4 separate regions of the Homo sapiens genome follow, and regions 1, 2 and 3 are each linked to region 4. The links are contacts of gene promoters, found by promoter capture Hi-C in blood cells and fetal thymus (Javierre and others, 2016). All regions are on one chromosome and are shown on one strand. The core of a region is centred on a gene start or on the middle of the fragment in contact, and the rest is flanking DNA. Distances in the headings are between cores, read along the strand shown.

Region 1 (3,996 bases), core at 1,426-3,925, 1.3 Mb after region 4:
CAAAACATAGTATGCAAACAAAATAGTATCCAAACAAAATAGCTATGAATTGTATCCAAACAAAATAGCTATGAATAGTCATTTGCAAATGAAAATAAGAGCTTATTCTTATTTCATTTTTGTTAATTGAATAGTTCCTGGCAGAAGGAAGGCATGTTTATTTAATTAAGGCAATTAGGGCACCCCTTAAGTTCCCGTACTTAAATTAAGATCTTAATTTTCTTGTGATGTCCTAAAAGAACATTTTCACTTTTAATACAAAGGTAATACAAAGCTACAAAGCTCTGAAAGAAAAGCACACTATTTTGAAATATCTGATGTATAAGTTTTCATCCTTTTCGATAAGCTTTTTTCTACCCTAAGGAAAAAGATTCACTAAGAGTAAACTCCTAGAATAGATATTAATCCAAAATATAAAAACTTTCAAACATAATCTCTAGCCTCACATTATTTTTGCTTTTGGCTGTTTCTCACCTGGCCTAAAATTATTCCTTTAAAATCCTGAAAGGTCATGTCTAGATTAACAGTGTTCCTTTGGAAGGCATATTCCAATTTCTTTACAATCCCCACATGGGTTGGCTACAGTCACTGTTATTCTCGGCATAACCACCTATGTCCTTAAAAATTTAACATAAGTACAATCTAACATAACAGGCTAGGGGAGAGAATAAACCAATGCACCTGGGATGAAAGTTCTTCTGTTTCATAACATAAAACTTCAGGACTCAGCTATCAGTTTCGGGTGCAGAATGTCCATACAACAGGGGAGCCGCTGCTGCCTGAGAAAATGAAGTGAAGAGAGGATGAGGAGAGGACAAAGAGGCTCGTTTGTGCCAACAGGAGGTCCACGTTTTGCACTTCCTCCCTCCGCACAGTTCGCTCTAGGTCAAGGAGTAATAAAGAAGCAATATCCCAGAGGCACCAGCCAGCAGCATGCGCTGAGAGAAGCTGACTAGAGGATCTGAAAAGGACAGAGGCTGGAAGACCAGCTGTGAGGTTTAAATCTTCCACTGCTTACCATCTGTGTGATTTTTTATTACCATAAGTTGGTTAACTTCTATGCCTTAGTTTTCCCATCTGGAAAATGGGCAGAATGATAGCTCTTAACCTCCTGGATTGTTGAGAGGACGGAATAATATAAACAAAGGGTCTACCACAGTGTGTAACACACAGTGAGCGCTCAGTCCAATCAATGGTAACGCTGTCATTAATTATCTCCAGCATACCGGCTGCTCTCAGAGTACCCCTTACTGCCTCAATGTTCCCTAGGGACCCAGGCGGGCTGGCTGGCGGCGCCTCCGCGCGTGCAGATACTTAGGGGACTGAGTCCATAAGGACTCCTTCCAACCCAGGGGAACCCATGCCCCAGCGCAGTCTCCCCAGGAGAGATGAATCCTGATCCCCACCCCTGCACGAGCCCGACCGATTTCTCAGGGAGAAGACCGGAGCTCGGGTGTCAGGGAATAGGGGACACGACTGCCCCAGCAACTTGCAGGAGTCGCACCACCTCCATGCACTTGTCCCGGCGCTCCCGGCCCGAGTAGCCTCCCGCAGCCCACACCTGCCCTGGCAGTTCGCACCCTAGCAGCTCCAGCTTCGGCTGCTGCAGAAGCCCGCACTTCCAGTCCCGGCCAATGCCAGCTGCAGTGGCGCACCCTGATGACGCAACCGGCGCGTGGCATTGACGCGGGGCCGCCGGCTAGCCAGCGCCGGGGGCGGGGCCCGGCCTGCGAGCCTCAGGGAGCGTGAGCGGATCCGAGGGTGTAATGTGTGTACTCGAGTGTGCGTGCCTGTGTGTGGCTAAAGATAGTGTGTGAGCGCCTGGACAGATGGTTACCCTGCCTAGGCCATGCGTGTGTGAGTGTGTGTGGGTACCTCATTCTGCTTTGTGTAAATTCAGCTTATCCGGGAGCTTGTCCCTCTTCCAGGCTCTGTTGGGAATGTGCGCGTGGGCTATCAGGTTATGTGTGTGGTCTGACTTTTTATGAGATCTGTAAGACTATGTAGGATTTACTACGAATGGGAGAGGCAGGGATTGCAAATGGCCATGTTGTGTAATTTCTACCAAAGTGGCTGAGTGCCTTTTCCTTTAAGGAGGAAAATGAGATATGAAAAGAAGCAAATAAGGCTTGTAGTATAAAAAGCCTCAGTTAGGAGAAATAAGGGCTTTTTTCCCCCTTCGGACTATATGTTACACAGCATGGTGAATATAGTAAATAATAATGTATTATACAGTTCAAAATCGCTAAGAGTACATTTCAAAAGTTCTCACCATGAAAACTGAGAAGTATTTGAGGTGGATATGTCAATTAGCTTGATTCAGTTATTCCACATTGTATTCATAAGTCATAACATCGATTTGTACCCCCTAAATATATGCAACTATTTAGATAGTTTAAAATTTATAGCAATCCAGTCTAGCCAGCTAAGATGGAGCAACAGGACTGAATTTACTCTCCTGCCTAAAACAACTAAAAACAAAAACAAACAGGCATTTATAAGACAATGGCTTTTAAACGTTGTGCTGGACAGTGGTCCTTGAGGAGGGAAAACAAATGAGGTGAGCCCTATGATTGCCTTGATTTACTAACTAGAGGGAGCAGCCAAAAAGAGCTAGGCAGACTCCCTGAGTTGAAGAGATAGAACTGGGAGAGCAGGGAGGCCAAAGCAGCTGGAACTGTGAGTTGTATATCAGAAAGGAGAAAGCTACACAGAGAAAGAAGGAGCTGTGGAGATCTACAACAGATCTCACTCCAGTCTTCCGCTGATTAGAGCATGTGTGTGAGGAAGCTACCTAAGGGCAGGAAATAATCATGTATGAAGAAAAGAGAGAGCAATTACTAAAGTTTGCACAGGGTAGGAAATTAATTCTGCTCCCACAAGGCAGAGTAGAAAGATACCCAGTGATTATACAGGACCAGAAATAGTGCCTGATCCTGGCACCCCGACTGGAAAACCTCATAATTCACAACTCAAATGGTTTTGCTTCAGTAGTGGGGCAAAATTAGCTCTAATGTAAAAGCTACTCTGATTCTATCTTAGAAATCTTAAAAGCCAGCCACCAAAGGATTAAACCGTTTTTGAGAACAAAGTGTCCCAGAGCAAAGCACAAGAATATTTACAGGAAATTAAAAATAACCAACACCTAACAAGGTAAAATTTGCAACATCTGGAATCCAAACAGAATTATCAGGCATGCGAAAAGAAGCAGGAAATGAGAAAAAAAAATCAACCAATTGAAATCATCCCAGAAATGACAGAGATGATAAAATAAGAGAACAAGGACATTAAGAAAGTAATTATGACTGTATTCAATGTTTTCAACAAGTAGAAAAAATAAACTGAGCATGGGAAGTAGAGATGTGAAAAATCTTTAAAAAAAAAAAAGACACAAACCAAACATCTAGGAGATAATAAAACCACATCTAAGATTTTTAACACCCTAACACACACACACAGACACACACACACACACACACACACACACACACACACACACACACAGGATTAATAGGTTAGACATTACTAAAAAAGAAACAGTAAAAAACCTGACGGGAGGCTGAGGCAGGAGAATGGCGTGAACCCAGGAGGCAGAGCTTGCAGTGAGCCAAGATTGTGCCACTGCACTCCAGCTTGGGTGACAGAGCGAGACTCTGTCTCAAAAACAAAAACAAACAAACAAAAAAAAACTTGAAAGCATTGTGATAGAAACTATCCAAAATGAAACACTAAGGGAAGAAAAATACTGAAAGTAAAAGTAGAGTATCAGTGAGCCTAGTATACATGCAATTGTAGTCCCTGAAGAAAATGAGAAATATGAGGTGAGAATAGATTAGGGAGGACAGAAAAAAGCATTTGAAAGAATAATTGATGAAAACTTTCCAAATTTGACCAAAACTATAAACTTATAAACCCAAAAAGCTCAACAAACTCAGTAGAAACATGAAGAAAACCATACCAAGAAACATCACAATCAAAATGCCTAAAGCCACTGAT
Region 2 (4,671 bases), core at 764-3,263, 1.5 Mb after region 4:
GTAGCTCCAGGGCCCCCCTGTAGCCACAGCCTTAGGCGGATCAAAAATGAGACTAATACAGGTCCTGGTAATACTGGGGGTGACCAAGGCGAAAGAATCGATTTTTAAGTTAAGTTTTGAGGTGTGACTGTATCAGAGGGAAAGAAACCATGCCAATTGAACGACTCACAGCCCTGTCGTTCCTGACTTGCTTATTTTCTTGGCTTTGCCAGAACTTCTTCAGAGACCAAGGCAGGCAGCTCTGGCGACTGGAGAGAGGCGGGGTAGAAGGTGTTTGTGTGGGTCTGAGGGCTGAGGTACCCTCTAGCCAGACTTTCCTGTCCTCCGAATCCAGCAGGGAACAGCGTCACCTCTGCCTCTGTGAGGCTTCTGATCTGAGGGGGCACCTCAAGTCATTTTAGTTTGTTTGTTTTCATCTTAGTTGAAAGATGATAGGCCACAGGAGGGCAGGGTCAACTGTGTTGAGGCAAGCTGGCTTTTGTGTCGGCCCTTAGGGGCTGAGGTGAAAGGCTTTGACACGGAGCCAGGGTAGCTTTGGCAGCTTCTCCCCTCCTGGTCAGAACACTTCCACTTTCAGTTGTGAAAAAAAAAATTAAAACCAGGAAGTGAAGTCCCCGAGCACGTTAGAAAGCCTGACATGGCCTGACTCGGGACAGCTCAGAGCAGGGCAGAACTGGGGACACTCTGGGCCGGCCTTCTGCCTGCATGGACGCTCTGAAGCCACCCTGTCTCTGGAGGAACCACGAGCGAGGGAAGAAGGACAGGGACTCGTGTGGCAGGAAGAACTCAGAGCCGGGAAGCCCCCATTCACTAGAAGCACTGAGAGATGCGGCCCCCTCGCAGGGTAAGGGGACCATCGAGGGGGTGTTATTCAGCAAGGGGGTCTTGTGAGGGTGTGACAGAGGCCAAGGGGGCATCCTGACCCCCGACTTTCTTTAAGCGACTTAGAATCAAGGGCCGGCTGAGTTCCACGGGCACATCATGCTGTCTCCCTCCTGGTCTCGGTCATGCCTTCAGACCCTGTGTCAGGAGGAGCAACGGGAAGGAAGGATGTGGGGCATGCATGGGGCTCACTTTCCTTCTCTCGACTCTCTTGGGGAAGGTGAACCAAAACAGAGACCTCTTTTTGTGGGTCTGAGCATCCAGCATAGCTCCCCTGAGGTGGGCTGGGGGTTTGCCCTCAATTTTATGTTGGGTAAGACTGATGAATGAGACCAATGGGGTGGGAGAGACAGATGAATGGAGCTGAGTGTATTTTAGGAAGTAAGGCCACAGGTTAAGTCTCAGGTGCTGCTTAATTCCTAAGTACTTCCTTCCCAATGCCCACTCCCTGAGGGTCCTAAGGTGAATCTCAAAGACCCTCAGGGAGTAAGCACTGGAAAGGGACTCTACCACTGGAGACCCTCAGGGAATAAGCACTGGAAAGGGACTCTACCACCGGAGACCCTCAGGGAATAAGCACTGGAAAGGGACTCTACCACCGGAGACCCTCAGGGAATAAGCACTGGAAAGGGACTCTACCACCGGGGCTTGGTACCTTCTGAGATATCAGCCTTTTTTTGGTGGTCTGAAAGGTAGAATTGAATCTATAGCTCCAATGTGTAGGTGATTAGTATTCTATATCAGAGGCAGAGTCTTAAAAAATAAAGTTAAGGCCGGGCGCAGTGACTCACACCTGTAATCCCAGAACTCTGGGAGTCTGAGGTGGGTGGATCACCTGAAGTCAGGAGTTAGAAACCAGCCTGGCCAACATGGCGAAACCCCATCTCTACTGAAAATACAAAAATTAGCTTGGCGTGGTGGCGTACGCCTGTAATCCCAGCAACTCAGGAGGCAGGACAATTGCTTGAACCTAGGAGGCGGAGGTTGCAGTGAGCCGAGATGGCACCACTGCACTCCAGTTTGGATGACAGAGCAAGACTCTGGCTCAAAAACAACACACAAACAAACAAATAAAAAAACATTGAAAACTGACTTAGTTTTCTTTTAAAAAAGGAGTAATTGGTTTTGTTTATTTCTCCCTTCATATTCTGATATGGAGTCACTCTGTGGTAGTCCCCTCCGATTGATCAGTATTCAAGGTTAAACACAGAACATGTCTTGAAAGAGGCATGGTGTAAAATTTTATAGCCATCTTTTGTGTATTTGGCATAATAAAAGGAACAAAAACCTAAATAAAACAAGAAGTGTAAGTGCAAATGCTTATAGGACAGGCAAGTAATATAGAGAAGTAAAGTAGATGGTGTGTAATAAGATGCTAATGGTGGAAACTTTAGCAAAATTCAGAGCAGGCATACCCCAGATAAATGCATTCAAATTTAATTATTAAAAAAGAGAAAACACTTTTTAATCCAGACCAAACAGAATATTTCAGCCTAGCCTGACCTAAAATAGTCTCTCCCAGGCTATATTGTAATTTTTTGAGGGCAAAGACACCAACAACAACATCAGCGTGTCATTGCATACCTAACCATCCACCTATAGTGAGACCACAGATACTACATGGAGGCTGGAGATGGAGGAAGGAGAGAGAAATGAATGGAGAGAGGGAAGATGAAGCCAGGGAAGTACCAGTACACAGTAGGTACTCTTATATTTAATCAAGACAATCTTCTTCTTCTTGTTTTTTTTTTTTTTTTTTTTTTTTTTTTTTTGGAGGAGCCTCACTCTGTCACCTAGACTCCCAGGCTTGAGTGCAGTGGCAACATCTTGGCTCACTGCAACCTCTGCCTCCCCAGTTCAAGCAATTCTCCTGCCTCAGCCTCCTGAGTAGCTGGGATTACAGGCATGCACCACCATGCCCAAATAATTTTTGTACTTTTAGTAGAGACAGGGTTTCACCATATTGGCCAGGCTGGTCTCAAACTCCTGACCTCAAGTTATCTGCCTGCCTAGGCCTCCCAAAGTGCTGGGATTACAGGTGTGAGCCACTGCACCTGGCCTATAGGATTTGCCAGCTTCTTAGAAACCAGGAATACAGTGTCTGCTCCTGTCTGTCTCTCATATGCCTCCTCAGCAGATGAGCAGACCCTCAGCTGGAGTGCAGTCAGAGGTGACTCTTGTGCCTGGCAGCATCAAGCAAGGGTGACGTAACCCCAGCAGCCATGAGTCCAGCCATCACTGCTTATCACATTCTGCTGGAAATGCATCTGGGTCTATTTCTCCCCTCTATGTCTGTACATCCTGAGGTCGGAAAGGGACTCTCTCACCAACTTGTCCTCCCTGGCGCAGGGCCTGACACTTCCTAGGTTCTCAACTCATTGTTTGAATAAATACATGAGATCTGGAGTTTGGAAGGTCAGACAGCCCGTGCAATGCTGTGGTCAGGCCACACTATTAGCCTTCTTTGGGGAAGCTGGTGGATCTCCCAGTCTTCATGGGCCATTCTATTCTAAGAGTTGTGAGGTTGCGAGTGGCTCAAGTTGAGGATTTGAGGTCTGGGGTAAAGCTAGGTCAGAGACAGGCCATGGTTCCCTACAACTAGAAGTGCTCTGTTTAAATAGAAATGAGGGCTTGTTGGCCGGGCGCAGTGGCTCATGCCAGTAATCCCAACACTTTGGGAGGCCGAGGCAGGCAGATCACTTGAAATCAGGAGTTTGAGACCAGCCTGGCCAACATGGTGAAACCCCATCTCTGCTAAAAATACAAAAGCTAGCTGGGCGTGGTGGCAGCTGCCTGTAATCCCAGCTACTCGGGAGGCTGAGGCAGGAGAATCGCTTGAACCCAGGAGGCGGAGGTTGCAGTGAGCTGAGATCTCGCCACTGCACTCCAGCCTGGGTGACAAGAGTGAAACTCCATCTCAAAAAAAAGAAAAAAAAAAAAAAGAGATGAGGGCTTGTTAAAACCTTTGCACAGAAGTGGAGGGGCAGTAATCGTTCAAGACCGTGGTCATCTCTTTTCTTTTGGGACATCTCGTAATAGAACATCTGATATTGGCAAGGATGTGAAAACTGAGGAAAAGGGAAGGAAAGGGGAGCTAGATTTGATTGAGGACTTCCCATGTGCCTGACAGCATACCAACTGTTCTACACACAGCATCTCCTTTAAGTAGCGATTTTCACCTGCTCCTTCTGTGTACAGTGGCGGGGAACTGATGCTCAGTGACTCTAAGTAACTGTCCCCAGGGCTACACATGTAGTAAGTGAGGAGCTGTTGCTCTGGTACCTGGAAGGGCACGACCTTGAAAGTTTGCCCCTGGCAATGACACCGTTGACAAGAAAGCTTGTTGCCTGCACTTTGAAACTGTTGACCCTTGACCACTGGTTGGGACAGGCAGTGCAAGGGCTGATTCTGCAGAAAACTAAGGCAAGAAGTCTGCTTTCCCAACCTCTTGCCTCACCCTGGCACAGGTGACAGGGTCCTAGCACTTTGTCCGGCCTATCTTTTTACAGACCCCCTTATCAGATCCAGTGGACTTCTGACACTGCTTCTTCTTACCCCAGTTCTGTCATAATATACTTGGTCAGCAGCAGGCCTGGGATGCCCTTTGGGGGTGTTACTGACACAAGTTGTCCCGGGGTCGGGATTTGGACTGTGACTCACTTGAAGCCCAGTGGTGGATCAAGGTTGACTCTATCGACCTGAGCTCCTGTGGGATTTGTCACTTCTGGGGTCACATCCTGTGGGTGACTCAACTATCCTATGCTATCTTAATGGACTGACTTAAGAGGC
Region 3 (4,503 bases), core at 191-2,690, 1.0 Mb before region 4:
AAGCTTGCCAGCATCTAAAAATTTTACTCTGATATCTTTCAGGAGCTTCAGAATAGATTTATTGTGTTTTCAAACCATATTTCTGAGCAAGTTATCATTCTTAAAAACAGTCAAGCAAAAATGAAGCTTTCTTTAGGAGCAGGACTTCAACACTGGCTGCACATTAGGACTATCCGGGAAACATCTGACTTAACTGGTCTGGAGTACAGCCTTGGCTTCAGGAGTTTTAAAATGCAAAAATATAAGAGTCTAATATACTTTCTTTCAAGATCATTTATTTCTTTATAGACTCTGCCTTCCATTCAGGTACATTCTGACGTAAGGATTTTGGTGGCACTGACTGGGTGTTTAGTGCTGATTGTAGTATCAATATTATCAGTCACTAACTTCATCAATAACGTTAACACAACCAATCATGAGCACAAAATCTTCAACTGCAAACTAAAAACCAACAAAAACAAACTGGATCTGTTCAAAAACATCCTCTGCTTCCTGGTCATCACAACCTGCCTCCTCATTCCCACATTCTGATCTTCATCACTACCACCATCACATCATCACGTTTCCCCTGGTGACTGGCATATCAGACCCCCACAGAATCATCAGCTTTATCAGTCTCACTGACACTCCCCTCCACAATGCTACCTACCCCCATCAACACTCAACACTTTCCCTCTTCCTACTTCCTCATCCTTCAGGCCGATCACATTCATGTTCTGGGTGCAATGCAGCTACTTCTTTATCATCAATATTAGACATGATGAAAGAAGTCCCAATACCATAACCAATAGTTAGGATGTGGTAAGGGGCAGTGGCAGCAACAGTGAAGGTGAAGAAGATAGCAACAGGCAATGGCTGAGGCAGTGAGGCAGCTACCACTGAAGTGAATACAGTGGGCCCTGGTGGTTGAGGCAGCTGTACCCACAAGGAAAACAGGTGATGGAAAGTGATTGAATGAGTGAGCAGCTGGAGCTAAGGAGAGAACAAAGTTGGTGCAATTATATAAGTCCTAGCCATTGAGGTGGCACTGGTTGAAAAGGCAGCCAAGATGGAGGAAGTGAAAGTTGTAGCTAATGACCCTCATAATTTGTATAAGGAGTAAATGAGTTACTATACATATGGCACTTAGAAACAGTACCTGGCACATAACAAATGTCATGTAAATGTTTAATGTTATTAGAGTTAGACACACAACTAACCATAAATGCAATGTGATAAATTGTGTAAACAGGTGTGTATACCACTTCTCCGGAAGGCAGGGATGATGTCATCTCTGTATCCATGTATCTACAATTAACATATACATATGCTCACTCAAAGATGGCTAAATCAAATTCACAACATTGGATCTATGATCTTTTCAGTCTCAATGAACAGTAATGAATCTTCAGTGACAGATAGGCTCTTGCAAGGTGCTGTATTATGACATCTGCTCATTCCACATCCTATGACTTTTCAGAAATGTTAGAAACAGCCAAGAGCTAAGCAAAGTATGCAGCAAAGTAGGAAGCCAAGAGCAACAGGCCTAGTCCACGATGAAACATTAGCCCATACACTGCCAGGTATTTTCAAACTATGCCTTACAGAGAATGACTCACTTAAAAGTCTTGCATATACAGGTCTGCTTTTAGAAATAAGTTCCCACACCTTCAGCCTTTATCACAAACAAGATTTTTCACTGATTGTACATGAAAAGCACACCATACTTACCTCACTGGTGGCCAGGCAAATTAAACATGATAATGTGTGTGAAAGCACCATGCACAGCATCTATTACACTGCAGGAGCTCAAGAAATATTTGAATCTGGATCTGAAGCACCAGCTGGAATTCCCAAGTCTCGTTATAAGAATGGAAGGGGCCAGTTTACTCCAATTTCAGCATCTTAACACGGGCACAGATGCTCTTCCAGCATCAATAGCTTTAGAGGTAGTGGTTTGTTTCTCTGTTGCACAGCTGAGGGAACGCTAAGGGCTTTACATACATTAGTGGCTAATTCTCACAACAATCCTCCAAGGGAGGTTTCACTATTCTCATTTTACACATAAAGGAACAGGAGTTAAAAGGAGTTAAGTACTTGCCCAAAGTCAGCTGGTTCATCAGGAACCGGGACTCAAGGTCTATGCAATTCCCAAGTCCATGCTCTATTACACCATATTAGCTGGGGGACATAATAGAGCCTTAAAGTGTTCTAAGACCAACAGAAGCAAAACAAGTGAGCTCCAGTTTCCAGCTGGGATCTACAACCTCAGGCAACTGAAGCTACCTAACCTCTATTTCCTCATACATTACAAAAAGAAAAAGAAGTTATCTTCCAACTCTAAGTTTAATGATTCCATCACTTTTTTCCTTTCTTTACTTTCTCTTTTTCCTCCTTCCTCTGCTACCTCCTAATATGGTCCAAAATGTGTTGGATACATCTATATTTTTTAAAGAAAAAGGATCTAAAATTGCATGCAATTATAGCACTGATCTTCCAAACAGAGATTAGACGGGCATGGTTTCTTATGTACTTCAAGAGATCAATTTTTCAGTCAGCTAAAAAAAAAAAAAACACATGGTTCTCCTTAGTAGTCGTTAGAGCAGTACTGGCTTACTGGGATAGAAATACAGTAATACACCACTTTTCAGAATTCAGGTTTCTGGCAACCCATCAGACAATTAACCAGTTCTGGGGAGAAGGGACAGCCAAGAAATATTTCCCAAAAAGACTTTCCTAAATGCACACTCAATTTATAAAGGACAATAATATATTACAAGCTTTTCTCATTTTGCAATCTTATGATCAAAATTGAAAGCTAATTTCTAAGATAATGAAGGACTATATTAGAGAAATAGAGAACATTTTCCATAATAACCTATCTCCTTCTCCACCACCACCACTCTGACAAAAATGGAAAACGAAAAAAACAAACAACAAAAAAAAAGTTGTAATTCTCTAACTTACTACCTTAAAAAAAAATGGTAATGGCCAGGCGCAGTGGCTCATGCCTGTAATCCCAGCACTTTGGGAGGCCAAGGCGGGCAGATCACCTGAGGTCGGGAGTTCAAGACCAGCCTGGCCAACATGGAGAAACCCCATCTCTACTAAAAATACAAAATTAGCTGGGCGTGGTGTCGGGCGCCTGTAATCCCAGCTACTCCGGAGGCTGAGGCAGGAGAATCGCTTGAACCCGGGAGACGGAGGTTGCAGTGAGCCGAGATCACGCCATTGCACTCCAGGCTGGGTGACCAAGGGCGAGACTCCGTCTCAAAAAAAAAAAAAAAAAATGGTAAATATATAGAAACAGTAACCAACCACTTAGGAAGCCAAAAAATAAAATGGTTTTTAACTTCCAGATACTAACCCCCAGTCATGATCTGTTACTAATTCCTTACCCTCTTCTTCTCACCCAACCTGGGGTTGGGGTGGAGATCTAAAATCCTTTACAGATGTTCCATCTAATTTCCAGACAAAATTATTACCTGTTTCCACACCTGTGTCTCCTGAGTGTGTCACCTCGTTAGGTTCAATTATTCTTAAATTTCTCAGTTGAAAATCCTGGTGATTCACCCTTAAGGAGAGAAAGAACAGGAAGTTGCAGACTTTGACCACAATAAACGTGGCAAGGCTCAGTTAGAGGAGGCATCGCTTAACTTAGCAGTTCTCTAACATGAGTCAGAAGAACTTTCACCCCCATTATCAGTGGCAGAATAAATAAAAGTTTGATGTAAAACTTGCAGGTGTAAAACATCCCCATGGCAGGTTAACCTTCTCAGTTGCAGCTTCTAGTTCATAAATTCTCACACCTCCTATTTAACTAGACTAAGAAGACTTATTTTCAATGTTTTTTCCTTACACAAGTTCTATTTGGTTCTTTTTCACATCTGCCCGTTCTTTCTTTATGGTGTCCTATTCTTGCACTCTGGTTTCTATGCCTTCTCTTTGTGCCTTCATTACTGTAGGCCCTTATTTTATAATTTCTCCCATACTTTCAAATAGATCTTGGGAGACTAACCCTCATGTTTGCTAGGTCTGCTGCCTCTCCCTCTTGGTGGTTCATTCCTTCTGCGTTTTGTGATCTTTTATTAAGAGCTTATCTTCAATAGAGGCTATTTATCTATGAGAATGTGATGGGTCCTGGTTTGTACAAGCAGTTCTGTTATTGTTTGCTTCTAAGACTTTCACATTAATTTATTAGCTAGAAGATTTACACACAAACTTCTTGTTCCCATATGGGGATAGTCTAATGCCCTGGACACCAGGCATGAAGGTCTATATCTGCATCTGGTAACTTTCCCAGGCTCAGGTTACTAGCATACCACTCAGGCGTTAGGTTCCCTCTACATTTTTGGCACTTGAGGATTTCTCTTTCTTTCAAGTTCATTCAGTCAACAAATATTTATTGAAAAATCTTCCATAATCCAGGCCCTATTCTGGACACAACAGTGAACAAAACAGACAAGATCTCTGACTTTAACAAATTAAGATGGGGCAAGGCAGGGGGATGGGCAGAAGACAGGG
Region 4 (4,529 bases), core at 1,419-3,918:
GCTATCATAAAAACACCAGGACCAATTAAGACTTGCATGAGAATTTCAGTGAGAAAAATAACATTGCCTAAATTGGAATGTGACCAGATGGCCAACAGTTGCCTTGGTATTTGCTTTGATAACATCAAGATTCATCTGTATTTGAATTGCAGGGCCCACACATCTTTCAACAATGTCTGCAGGGTGCCAGGAGTTGACACTCATAAACTATGCTGACATCAGTACACTTTACTGCAGAAAGTCATTGCATCAGCTCCAAGAATAGGCAAAGTAGCAGCAACACTTTATTAAAGGTAGTCAATGTTGCCAACCCAAGGCACTAACACATACTCTATACACACAGGATTAAATGCTACCCTCTTCTTTGTAGGACACTGGAGAGGGGTAAGCATGCTAAGAAGTGAGATGGATTTAACCAGCAACTCACGGCAAAGTGCGTATAGCTGCGTTTGAGAAGGCTTAGTCATGACTAGAAAAGTGTGAATACTGTGACATATCCTTGCAAAAAAAATGTTCAGCTTAAGCCTCTAGACTAACTTCTGGTTTACAAGAAGAAAAAAGAGGGGCCCATTTCCAAAAAGACTCCTGCCTTGAACTCTTCAAAATGCCAATGTCACAGGGGGAAAAAAGATGGGGGAACTCTACTACATTAAAGCTAAAGAAAAATTTTGACTGGATCCTGATTTTTTTTTTTTTTTTTTTTTTTTGCAGGATTGGGAAGGAGAAGGTATAAAAGATATTCCTGGGTAAATTAGGAAAATTAGCACTTGGCCTAGATTTTAAAAGTTACAAAACAGCTGAAATAATGATATTGTGTTTTGCTGGAGAACTTCAAAATTCTTAGGAAATTCATGCTGGAAATCTTAAGGGTGTCTTGCCTAACAATAAGTGTCTGCAACTTTTTATGACAATGAAAAAGTGGGGAGGAATGAAAAAAAATGGCAAAATGTTAACTGCTGCATATAGATGATGGGTACATGAATATTCATTAAATTATTTCTTTCAGCTTTTAAATATATGAACACTTTCATAATAAAACACTGGGGAAAAAAATCATGTCAGAAAGACTTCACAGGGGAAACGTAAAACAAAGATTGAGTAGCAGGCGCTCAGCTGAATTTCTGATAAATTGAAGGTCTCTAAAACTTGGCTGGAAGTGTCTTGGGCATCCAAGAGACACCCGATATATTCAAACTTTCAGTAAGTATTTACCAAAATAATATCATGTGCATGGTGAAAATGACGGGAAGACGAATCTGATACAAACCATTCTATTTAGGTGCAGACATGGTAGTGAAGCTAAAAACATAAGCGCTATTATATATATATAACATACTGATTGTCATAAAAGATGTACAAAAAATGCTAAACTCAGAGGAAATTACTTCCTGCTGGGAAGAATCTGGAAACACATCTCCACGGGTAACAGAATCAGATACAGAATCACAAAAGGTGACTGCTACAACAGATTTCAGTAATTAACAGCAAAGAAACAAGAGTAGTTCATTTTGGCTGGCGTGTAAGTACTAAGGAAGCAGAAATTAAGTCGAGAAGGTAGGTTTGCATCTGTATTGTTGACTGGCTGGATATTAACCATTTTCAATTTTACCTGAAAGTTCTGGTCTTTTTGCTGCAGCTTTAAGCATCCAACCCGGTATTACCAAGATGACTTAGAGTTCTTGACTCAAGCATACAGAAGAAACTACAAGATAATGTATGATAACTTTGTAAAGGGCCATATAAAAGCAATACAGTATTTTCAAAAATCTTCAACACGTTGTTTAAGAAACTGTAGACCTGCAGGAATCCCACCACCAGAACCGCAGTCAAAGCTTACAAAGACTCAAAGGAGAGACGCGGAAAGGGGGGAAAAATCAGAATGGGAAGGCAGGTGGCAGGGGAAAAAGATTGAGGTCCTGCCCTGGTGGTAGGGGCTCATCTTTTCCTTTTATAGGTGAAGGTGGAAAATGATTTTCTGAAGTTCCCGAATTCTCCTCCCTCCAAAGGCCAAGGAGTGAAAGTACTTAATAGGAACTTGCGGAGGCGTGGTCAAGAGCTCCGTTTTGCCGGAGTTAGGAGCTCCGCCCCGAGGTCCCCGCCCATTCCCCGCTGGGGTCCTCCCGGCCGGGCTGCCTCTGGCTGGGTTAGGGCGGCCTGTAGAGCGGCCTCACCCCACAGGGAGCCTCACGGGGGCGGGCCGCCGCCAGGCCAGCCCGGAAAAAAACCGCCTTCCAACGGAAGCGGCCCTGAGCCCCGCTCGCCATTTCAGCGCTCTGTCCCACAGGGACCGTCCGGCCCGGGTCCGGCCCACTGGTTGGGGTCCACGGACTCACCTCACTTTGCAACTAAGGTCAAAAATAAGCATTCCCTGGGGCACGGGCGGCCAGGCTATTAACACCCTTCCGCCATGACCCAATTCGGAAGTGCCAAATGCAACTTCCGGGCAGGAGAGGGAATTTCGGAGCCCTAAACTGTTGTCCATCTCCGTAAGTGACCAGACGTCTCAGTAAAATAAGGGCCAGGAAACTGGACGTGTAATCCGGAGTATGAATTAACTTGTCTAACATGGGATGTGTGGTCACCCACGGTACCTCTTTGGGCTTACTTACAGATGCATCCCTTCCCAGACGGCTCAGCTGTTGCCCCGGGTAACGGTGAGACTGGCGAAGGAAAAAAATCTACGTCACCCTGGAAACAGGAAGCCAGGAATCTCCTTTTGCCATTATCAGTTATGGCCGCCTTAGCTTCAACAGTAACTTCCGATCGGGGAGTTGTCACTCTACCCTGCTGGAGGCTTACTCTGTAGCCCGGCTAGCCAGAGGCGCCCAGTGGGCGGGAGACGGCGTAGAGGAACTGAGGAAAGGACAAGGGCGGAGAGAGAGAAGCTGGCGGCACTGCCCGTCTCTGATTGGGCAGCTTCTCTTGCCCCGGTTCCGCCCATTTTTCTTGCCTAGCGAGTGACGGGCCCACGGCAGAGGGGTGGGGCGGGGAGGCTGGAGCGAGAGTAGTGGCGGGGCGGGCGGGGCGGGGCGAGTGGGGGAGGGGCGGGCGGGGGGCGGCGGTTGGGCAGCGTCGCTTCTTAGGAGGAGGAGGAAGAGGAGGAAGGAGGGCGAGCGAGGAGGATGGCGGAGTCGGGGCTCCTGACGGTAACTCGGGGCCGATGAGGCGGAGGGTGTCTGTTGGTCGGTTCTTCCTGCCTGCCTTCCTGTCCGTCGGGCAGTCGGGCTGGCTGTCGGTAGGGGGAGGCCCCGTGCGCCCTGACAGGCGCGAGCCGGCAGCGCCGGGGCGAGGCCCGAGGGGCCGGGGCCCTGGGAGGCGCCGCCGCCGCCGCTTTCCTGGTTGCTGTCTCCGGGAGTGCGGGGCCCTTGGAGCCGGCTCGCGTGGGAGCCTGCAGCCCGGCGCGGAGAGGAAGGCGGTCGGGTGTGACAGCGGCCGGGGCCGGGCCTGCGGCGGCGGCGGCGGGCGGCCCGGACAGCGCCTGGGCGACGGCGAGCCGGCGCGAGGGCGCGGGCCGGGGGCCCCCGGCGGACAGTCTCTCTCCTCTCGGCTCCCTGGGCCCCCGGGCCCAGTCCGCAGGGCGCCCCGAGTCGTGTAAATCGTTGGCGAGGGCCCGGGCGCAGCGGCGGTCATACAGGGTGGGGTCTCTTCTCGCCCCCTCCCTGGAGTCCACCTTGCTCTCCCGTTCTCCTCTCCCTAAAAACCCTTGAGTGAAGAGTGCTGGATCGGCTCTGGGTGTGTTGCCTAGCGAAGCGAGTTGTAGCCCTTCGAGACCGCCTCGTAGAACATGCCCGATGGCAACCTCTCCCCGTGATAGCACAGCTTTTAGGGAGAGAGGAAAAGTAGTCTCACTCTTCCCCGACTTCCCCAGGCTCATAACACAAGAGGCTTTGGGGCAAGACGATTTTTCCCCCAGCACCTCAATATCCATTGTTTTTGTACCATCCCCCTCCCCCCATGCCTAGGTGGAAGAGTAATGACTCCAAAGCATTAACTTGCCTTTCTCTTTATTTCTTTTCTTTCTTTTTCTTTTCTTCCTTCCTTTCTTTAAGCAGGCAGTTTGTGTTATTGTGGAATTATGGATTTACAAACAGGTGGAATAAATACCGATTCGGGAGCTAGAAAGAAGATGCTTTGTGTGTGTGTTTAAGCCCTTACAGTTGGCAGTTTGATTTTTCTTGTCTGTTGCTTTGTATCGTAATGGGGGTGATGAGAATAAAAGAGGAAGCACTGTTTTGCAACCTACCCAAAGAAATATTTTCGAAGTCTCTGGGGATGCTGAAGCAAAATTAGGTTGCAGATGTGGACTGTATAGTATTTGCCTCCAGCGTGATAACTACCAGCAGTGTCTAGGCTTACACCTGTGCCATTTCGTATACTTTTCTTAGATACCGAGTGCGTCTAGTTTCTACTCAAGAGGGACTACTATATCAAAAGCTTTTTGTTACGGTTTTCAGAATCCTAAGGTACATTTGTGTAACCAAGTGTTTTTGTAACTAAATGCAGCAACACCACTGAAAAATAGTTTTAAT

Evidence for each region. Contacts are between HindIII fragments. The CHiCAGO score rates a contact against its expected background, and 5 or more counts as called.
Region 1: a fragment that was not itself captured here is called in contact with the fragment with the promoter of BBIP1 in region 4 in 1 of 17 cell types (erythroblasts); the score reaches 6.3 in erythroblasts.
Region 2: a contact is called between a fragment that was not itself captured here and the fragment with the promoter of BBIP1 in region 4, in 1 of 17 cell types (erythroblasts). The highest score is 5.2, in erythroblasts.
Region 3: a contact is called between a fragment that was not itself captured here and the fragment with the promoter of BBIP1 in region 4, in 1 of 17 cell types (monocytes). The highest score is 5.3, in monocytes.

The regions. Positions count from the first base shown.
Region 1 is chr10:112,182,113-112,186,108 of GRCh38, forward strand. GPAM (glycerol-3-phosphate acyltransferase, mitochondrial) reads right to left here and starts at 1,653. Exons shown (of 22, transcript NM_001244949.2): 1 at 1,581-1,653; 2 at 682-779. RefSeq lists a silencer at 1,571-1,800. The HindIII fragment of the contact is 4,662 bases long and covers 345-3,996 here.
Region 2 is chr10:112,375,605-112,380,275 of GRCh38, forward strand. All of the region lies in intron 1 of ACSL5 (acyl-CoA synthetase long chain family member 5), which reads left to right. Among named protein-coding and RNA genes, the nearest start is that of ACSL5, 3.8 kb to the left of the region's middle. RefSeq lists enhancers at 213-362, 244-744, 503-722, 745-1,245. The HindIII fragment of the contact is 4,411 bases long and covers 1-4,219 here.
Region 3 is chr10:109,911,547-109,916,049 of GRCh38, forward strand. XPNPEP1 (X-prolyl aminopeptidase 1) reads right to left here. Exons shown (of 21, transcript NM_020383.4): 2 at 3,465-3,553. Among named protein-coding and RNA genes, the nearest start is that of XPNPEP1, 9.7 kb to the right of the region's middle. RefSeq lists enhancers at 1,294-1,343, 1,690-2,345. The HindIII fragment of the contact is 2,633 bases long and covers 125-2,757 here.
Region 4 is chr10:110,916,512-110,921,040 of GRCh38, forward strand. It overlaps BBIP1 (BBSome interacting protein 1), which reads right to left and starts at 2,669. Exons shown (of 4, transcript NM_001195305.3): 1 at 2,610-2,669; 2 at 1,610-1,702. The coding sequence starts at 1,646. SHOC2 (SHOC2 leucine rich repeat scaffold protein) reads left to right here and starts at 3,093. Exons shown (of 9, transcript NM_007373.4): 1 at 3,093-3,146. RefSeq lists silencers at 2,003-2,162, 3,013-3,452, 3,463-3,552 and enhancers at 2,294-2,833, 2,523-2,722, 2,743-2,792. The HindIII fragment of the contact is 2,602 bases long and covers 1,831-4,432 here.